3 separate regions of the Homo sapiens genome follow, and regions 1 and 3 are each linked to region 2. The links are contacts of gene promoters, found by promoter capture Hi-C in blood cells and fetal thymus (Javierre and others, 2016). All regions are on one chromosome and are shown on one strand. The core of a region is centred on a gene start or on the middle of the fragment in contact, and the rest is flanking DNA. Distances in the headings are between cores, read along the strand shown. Region 1 has its middle 290 kb from the start of PKIA. Region 2 holds the start of PEX2 (peroxisomal biogenesis factor 2). Region 3 has its middle 280 kb from the start of PKIA.

The links. The method cuts DNA at HindIII sites, captures the fragments that hold promoters and counts their contacts. A CHiCAGO score of 5 or more calls a contact.
Region 1: a fragment that was not itself captured here is called in contact with the fragment with the promoter of PEX2 in region 2 in 1 of 17 cell types (monocytes); the score reaches 8.6 in monocytes.
Region 3: a contact is called between a fragment that was not itself captured here and the fragment with the promoter of PEX2 in region 2, in 2 of 17 cell types (megakaryocytes and monocytes). The highest score is 8.0, in megakaryocytes.

Annotation. Positions count from the first base shown.
Region 1 is chr8:78,221,215-78,223,914 of GRCh38, reverse strand. No RefSeq gene overlaps it. Among named protein-coding and RNA genes, the nearest start is that of PKIA, 290 kb to the left of the region's middle. The HindIII fragment of the contact is 4,524 bases long and covers 1-2,700 here.
Region 2 is chr8:76,998,817-77,001,516 of GRCh38, reverse strand. It overlaps PEX2 (peroxisomal biogenesis factor 2), which reads left to right and starts at 1,439. Exons shown (of 4, transcript NM_000318.3): 1 at 1,439-1,527. RefSeq lists an enhancer at 1,150-1,444. The HindIII fragment of the contact is 1,935 bases long and covers 1-1,468 here.
Region 3 is chr8:78,238,770-78,241,469 of GRCh38, reverse strand. No RefSeq gene overlaps it. Among named protein-coding and RNA genes, the nearest start is that of PKIA, 280 kb to the left of the region's middle. The HindIII fragment of the contact is 1,410 bases long and covers 546-1,955 here.

The DNA.
Region 1 (2,700 bases), core at 126-2,625, 1.2 Mb before region 2:
TGAAAGGCGAAGGGAGAACCAGTGCATCATATGGCAAGAGAGGGAGGAAAAGAAGGGGGGCAGGTGTCACACTTCAGTGACACTGAAGTGTGGGAAATCACTCATTACCATGAAGACAGCACCAAACCATTCATGAGGGATCCACTCCCATGACCTAAACATTTTCCACCAGGCTTGCCCTCTAACATGGGCAATCACATTTCAACATGAGATTTGGAGGGGAGAAAACATCCAAACCACATCAGGTATCATCTGAAGGCTTGACTGGGGGAAAACTGTGTCCAAAGCGACTCATATGACTGTTGCAAGGATTCAGTGGCTCTTCGGTTATTATATGGAGGGCCTTGGGTCCTTACTGAAAATTGGCGAGAGGCCTCCCTCAGTGCCTTGCCATACGGGTTTCTCCACAGACCAACTCACAATATGGCAAAGTGACATTTCATTACTTTATCACATTCTCTGCACATTCTGTTCACTTGAAACAAGTTACCAACTCCAATCTTCACTCAAAGGGAGGGGATTATAGATGAGCATGAACACAAGAAGGCAGGGATCACTGGAGTCATCTAAGAGACTGATCACCACACCAGTCATGATTGAGAAGCACTCTCTTTACTATGCTGCACCAATAGTAACATGTTAAATATAACACTGCCTTTTTTTACTGGCTACATTTTTTGATATATTTTCTATAATGTCTATCATAATTGTTTTCCAAGGATCCCTCATCTGTATAAATTTGGTCAAAATTTTAGCATTTTAAATGTTGTCTGGAGCAAAGTGACTCATGGTGTGACTGGAAAATGAGAGGTCTTGTTTATTTTTATCCTGGATGCATCATGTACTTACTATTGTTGACTCTAGCTTAGAGAGTTGCCAAATAGCTGGTTCTTTCTCATTTATAAAAATAAGGCAACAATTTTAGCTTACCAATGGCGGGGCTATGAATAACAATTTTTTAAAGCACTTCTCTGTAGTGCTTTGAAATCACCCATGTGTTCATATTACCCACAACTTTTAAACAAAAATAAAAACAACTAAAGCCACTTTTGCACTTGGGGTTCATAGATATATTTTAACAATTTACTGGAAAGAAATTCTTAATTCCATTTTCTTAATCTTCAGGTAACATTTACAGTGAGCTTGGGGATTCCTATTAGTACATGCACTTCATTTGTAAATAAGAAGCATTCTAATAGAATAAATAATCAATTCAGTATAATTAACATGAACAGAGAACCAGCTTTTTAAGCCTGGTACTCCATACTCTGTCACTCCATTTTGTCTTAAATATGAGTCTTTTAGACAGTTGATGACAGCTATCTCAACTTGGAAATGCAATACCAACATTTATTGAATTGAAAATAGACCCTTCAAGCCATATTTTGGCATTGCAAAGTTAAAATTAGACCCCACTTCAAACAGGTTTTTTAAATGAGGAAGCATCCCTAACAAAGGACCTTGCATCCCACTGAACATTGGACCATTATGCTAATTGGAATGGCCACTGTATAAGTCTTGGGTGGATCTGAAGAAAGTGGTAGTTATTCTTGCCTGAGTTTCCAACCACACTCATTTTGCTAAATTGCATTTTCTTTTGGAAAGCAGTCTGATAGGCTACAAGTGTTACTAATTCTATTAAATACTCCCTTCTTTCATATTTAATGATCAAAAAACTTAACCACTGTCTATTTTAAAATGATGTATTTCCATAAACAGATTGAGATACTTGAATAACCATCTCATGGTAAATAGTTTTTCTTGAATGACCACCCTATTCCTTTTAATTTTTCTAAGCTGAAATTCTAAGTTATTCAAATGGTAAAATTATGTTTAGAGAAATATGTAATTATATAGTTGGTTGGGATAATTCACTTTGAAAATTGACAGGGATGATATATATGCTACAGGCTCAAATCTAACCAGTCTTCTAACAGTGTTTGCAACATACATATTCATTCCCACTCTTCCTTCCTCTTTTCCTTCTGCTTTTCAAGTGTCTGTGATCCAGAAGGACTTGTCCATATCCTCTTGAGGGAGCATGTCGAGAAAAGCAAAGCTATGGCAGATAATTGGAGACAAGTTATTTTTAAAAGCCTAATGAACCTTATTTTTATCTACTGATGGAGCCCTTTCAAAAATACACACACGCACACACACACTCTCTCTCTCTCTCTGTGTGTCTGAGAGAGAGAGAGAGAGAAATATTTGCCAATATAATATGTAACACAGAGGGAAATTTTAACAGGTTTCATTTTATACTATATTACTGATCAAAAATGTCCAGACTTTTATCTTTCTTCCATAATTATGCTTCTTTTGTACTGTTTCCACATTTTCCCCACATTCCTTCTTTTTCTTTACTTAAGGTAATTCTCCACCAACATTATAACATTTTATTTTTGTTCATCATTCTCCATTTCTTCAACAGGGTAGATCAATTAGGGAGAATTTATAATATACATGATACGGTTTGGCGTTGTCCCCACCCAAATCTCATCTTGAATTATAGCTCCCATGATTCCCATATTTCATGGGAAGGAGCCAGTGAGAAGTAATTTAATTATGAGGTAGGTTTTCTCATGCTGTTGTCATGATAGTGAATAAGTCTCACAAGATTTGATGGTTTTATAAAGGGCAGTTCCTCTGAACACACTCTCTTGCCTGATGCCATGTAAGGCATGCTTTACTCCTTCTTCA
Region 2 (2,700 bases), core at 190-2,689:
TTAAAATTTTCCAAAACATTCTCATTTTGACATGTAAGCAATATAAAATTAATGAAATACTTTACATTCTTTTTCTTTTCAGACCACGCTTTAGAAATCTGGTGCATGTTCTACACTTAGAGCAGACCTCAGTTCAGACTAGCCACTTTTCAGGTGGCCAGTGACTACTACACTGGACAGTTGCAGCTCTAGAAAATCCACTCCCAAACCCCTAAGTGAACTACATACTCTATCAATTTGTAGCTTCTACTCTATCTCATTTGTACCATTGTTTCACAATTTGGATAGCATTAGAGTTAATAAATTTTATTTTAGCAACTCTGCTCCATGGGTAGTTTCTGAAATAAAAATACAAGCAAAAAAAAAAAAACTTTCCTAATAACACTGGTTCTACAGTATAAGCTCTCCCTCGAATGTCTAATAGAGCTTTCGTAGAAGTGAGTGTTCCTTGTAGGAACGGTGAGTCGAGACTGGAGGTAAGAACTAAGACGTTCTTAAACCCTACTACGTGCTGGAATCCTGAAGTGCCTGCCATCATTCAAACTTAAGCACTAACTCTCTAGAGAGACACTGCCATTCATACCACAGAACGAGAAGGCAGTGGCGATCCTCAACGGCTACATGTCACTGCCTGGTGAGCACTCTTCCCTCAGACCCCATTCCCAGAAGCTCTGCCTCGATTCCCCAGGGGTAGGCGAGCTGGCTGCCCGAATTCCTAAGCGTTACCGGGGAGATGTGAGGGCCTCCGGGGGCGGGAAACCTCAGGCCAGGCGCGCGCTGGCCCGCTCTACGGGGTCTCTCGGGAGCGCTTTGCAGGGCGGATGACTGACGGGCCAGCTACCTGCCTTCCTGAGCCTGCAGAGATAAACAGCCTATCCTCCCTGTGCACACAGGCCCCGAGGGCGGGCAGGTCTCCAAGCGCAGCACAACTGCCCCAGGCCCGACGCAGCCACCTGCCCGAGGGCTCCCTCCCCACCAGGCCATCCCTCAGCCGGTCCTCCTCCGACAGCGAACAAGGAACCCCGGAGGCGCGGAGGCGTCTCGCCGCCACCCGGCGGCGCCTGCCAGAGGCCCTTCGCGATGTCCGCAAGCAGAGAAAGCCCTGCCCTCCCAAGCCCCGGCTTCCCCTAGGCCCCTCGACACTTGTAGTGTCCTCACTTGCGGCCCCTGACCCGGGGCTGACCGGTTCGTGACTCTCCTGCCAATCAGAGACAGAGTTCTTCCGGCCAACCGGCCAATCACCGCGCGCGGGTGTCCGCTTCGGCTTTTCGGCCCTTCGGCTCTTCGGCTTGTCGGCGTTCGCGGTTGTTTGGCCATCCAGTGCCTTCAGCAGCGCCGCTAAAGCGCAGTTCTCGTTGGTGTAACTTTTTCTTTTTTTTTTCAGCCACTTCCGGCTCCTGCGTCGCTCCGGAAGCCTGCGAGTTCCGGAAGCCTTGGTAATCCAGATTCGGCTAGGAAAAGACAAGCTTTCCAGAGAATGTTTCAGAGAAAGTTACGTGGAGCGTGGGCGTTTCGCAGACTCCTAAGGTCAGTGTCTGCCCTAGAGAGCCGGAGTGCAAACCCGAGGTCTTGTTTTCAGCTGGGAGGTCGTGGAGTTTCACGACCTTGTAATTGTCGCCGTTTGCTTTTTTTTCCCTGTTTATTGGCTTCCTGTCTCCCTGGAAAAGGCAAATCAAAGCTGCTGAATTTTGGGAAAGGCAGTGAAGCAAACCTAAACTCCTAAAGATGTTTTTAGGATCGCGGCATTAAAAATAAACACACACACAGCTGCAGTTGAGCCCCTCTGCATTCCACGTAGTAACTTAAGAGACGAACTTCGAAATCTTTTTCTCTCATTTGGCGGTCGTGAAGATATTTACCTCTTATAAACGGCTTTATAAAGAATTGAGGATCCAAACTTTACTTAATATCTGAAAGTTCATGTAAAGTGTTATATGTAGTACAAAAAATTTGAGTGCTTAGTTTTCTAACACTGTTGAAAGCGCACGTAAATGCAGTTTGGTTTTCTTATGGAGGAAGAGATAATGAAAAGTTTCTGATAAAATTGCTTGCGATAAATTAGTTATATTTCACGTTGACTTTTGATAAGAAATCTGAATGTGAGAATTGTTAACATTTTTTCCTGGGTTCTTAAATTAAAAATCGTTGTTTGTTTATTTATTGAGGTACCATTTTCCAAATTTCCCACATTTAGTGAAAGGGCTTTTGGCAAAATGAGCAAGCTGTTGAACGTTCAAGTCTAACACATTCTGTTAAACTTCCGTGATGCCCCTCGGAAATATTTTATCTTGACGTTTCGGACAATTAAATGATACTTGGGCGCTCACAACACCGCAGCTTGTAGTCTAAACACCTTCCCCTAAAGTGTTACCTTTACTTAATCCTGAACAGAATGAACTTGGGGTGGCTCTTTTAACTTATCTGATCTCACCTATATTATCAATTACTTGTTTCCAGAAAGATTACAGTTGAGTGATCTTGAGCCAGAAAGAGATTTGAAAGAATTATTTACAGAGTCAAAAAAAAAAACCCTTCATATTTTTTTCTTAAAAAAAAAAATAGAAGTAACAGGACATAGAGCGAATACTAGACTAGTAGACTGAAGAGTATTAGACTAAATCAAGACAGTTGGATTCTAGTCCTGACTCTAGTTGCCTTTGTACAATTTTACCTCTTGGCCGTATTCTCCTTATTTTTAGA
Region 3 (2,700 bases), core at 1-2,500, 1.2 Mb before region 2:
AAAAAAGCTATAATGTCAATGTCTTGTTAGCCAAAATTATTATGATTTTATGATTTTTGCCTATGATAATCCTGTTTTTTAGAATGATATTTATTTGAAGGAAAAGTATTAGTTTACAACAGGTAACTTTGTATATATATGTATATATTTAATTGAAGCCAATTTATTGGATATTTTTGGTTTAAGAGTTGCAAATATTAAGAAGCTTCAACAATCTCAAATGCTTATATTGCCTTTTGTATTCCATTTATTTTATGTTTTGAGGATGATTGAAAGTAAAAGAGTTTAACTCACATATGCTACCTAAAAATTAACTCCTTTGTTCTCTCCAGGCGTGGTGGTGCACATCTATAATCCCAACCCTTTGGGAGGCTGAGGTGGGAGGACTGCTTGAGTCCATGAATTTGAGACCAGCCTGGGCAACATAGTGAGACCCTGTCTTTATAAAATATAAACAAAATTAGCTGGGAGTGGTGGTGCATGCTTATAATCCCAGCTACTCAGGCTGAGGCAGGAGGATGGCTTGAGCCTGGAAGGTTGAAGCTTCAAGGAGCTGGGATCATGCTTCTGCACTCCAGCTCGAGTGACAGAGACTCAACCTCAAAAACAAAAACAAAAACAAAAACAAAAACAAAAACAAAAAAAAGACCTTTGTTCTCCCCTTCAGTGTGTTTCTGTAGTGCTCACAGAAAGAGCAGTGCCTTTAAAAGCATATTCTGTTATTTTTTCTGAAACTTCGTTCTTGATAGACTCTCATACCAATTTGAAATCCATTTACATACATATACCCTAATTTTGTAACTGTTGGCCCCTCTGGTTTCTTCATATACTATATTTAATAAATCCTAACTTTCATGTGAGAGGGCTGTATACTAAAGAATTTTAGAACCTTAAGTGACATTTTAACAAGTACTTTTCTGTATTTTTTTAATCCCTTTAACAAGTAGTTATCCAGCCTTCTTTTCCATATCTGGTTAAATACTAATTAAATATTTAAAATGTGTAAGAACACTCCTAGGTTCTGGGTACACTGCAGTGAACAAATAAACTAGTTCTCTATAGTCATAGAACTTACGTATCTCTCATCTCCCTCTCTCTTTCTCTTTCTTCCCCCCCATGTGCTCAGTTTGTTGAAATCTTGCTCTCAGCATTTGATTACAGACTTAAAAAAGTACATTTACATTTAGTGTTCTAATTTTTGATATTTGGACATTTGTGTTGCCTACTTTTAAATTTTTATTTAACAAATATTGGATATGGCACAGCCATAGTTGCTGAAGAATCCTGCTTACATTAAAACATTTTTAAAAGGAGCAGATGCTTTTTTTTGTCTGTTTGCAGTAGAACAGCCTTTCATTTTCCCATGATAGATACTCCATTGCTTTCAATTTGAAATTCCCGATAACAGACAGCATGACCAAATGAATACATCCTTTTAAGATAATCTCATCAAACCTTATTTTCCTCAGAGGAAGATAATAATTTGCTCTCAGGGCTGTTTAAAGATTAAATGATATGAAGTAGATGCAAATTCCTGGCATATCACTGAATGAAAATTCTTTTTCCCTCTTTAATTTACTTGGTGGATTTTACCTATAGCAACTATTCATTCATTGTTCTAGTTCTGCTCCTTAGAGTTGTACAGAAAAAAAAATCCTTTATCCATATATAAATTATTGACATATTTTACAGTCATCTCTTCTTCTCACTAAATTTCTCTAAATCCTTCAATGTGTTCTTAAACTCTACAGTAAAGCATTTACTCACCAGACACAGATAGGTTGCATCTGATAGGACTTTAGTTTGTTCATGTCAATGTGGTTCAGTCACTGAACACAATGTTCTGGAAGTGATCTGACTTATGCAAGGTAAAACCAGTTGATCATTTATCTCATTTTAAGCCATTGGATGTCTATAAGGATAACCCTGGTATAGACACACTTTTTAAATAAGCTTAGACACTCTCTTGACACATTTTGAATTACGGTCAATTAATCATCTTTCATTTAGTTTTATCTGAATTTCTCTGAAGACTATGCCTTGTCATCCTTTTATTTTCACGATTGGTTTTTGAAACAAAGAATATCTTTATATACAATACATTTCAGTTCTTCATTAACCAATCCCATATATTAGTTGAATACCCACTATATGGCAACTGTAGTTTAGGCAATCCTCTGCATACAGAGTTTGAAAAGAAAATTAAGATACAGGCATGCCCATGTGGACCTCACATGCAAATAGAAGAATGGATGTGTAAAAAGCTAAAATTGGTGCTGTAGATGTTCACTTTAAGTCTCAAAGACTCCAACCACTGACATGCCTCTGAGAATTTGAGAAGGCTTGGACTGAATGCTGAGTAAAGTGTATAAAGGGGTCAGCAAAAATCCATGGTGGAGTGAAGTGAGGTAAGGATGGGGCATACTAGGCAGAGAATGAAGCATGGATGAAGAAAGAAGAGGTGAAGTTCAATTTGGATGTGGTTTGGGTACATGGCTGTTACTTGAGAGGAAATGATCAATCCAGAAGGTGAAGGGGCTTGAATGACAAAATAAGTAAGTAAATAAATAAGTGGCCCATATTTACCTGTGGGAGTGTGCTAAAAAGAATTCAAGGTCATGAAGACATTATTTAACCTTTTAGAATATTTTATATAGCTTAGAGTACACAATGAAGTAGGGGAAATTAGTGATTAAGAAA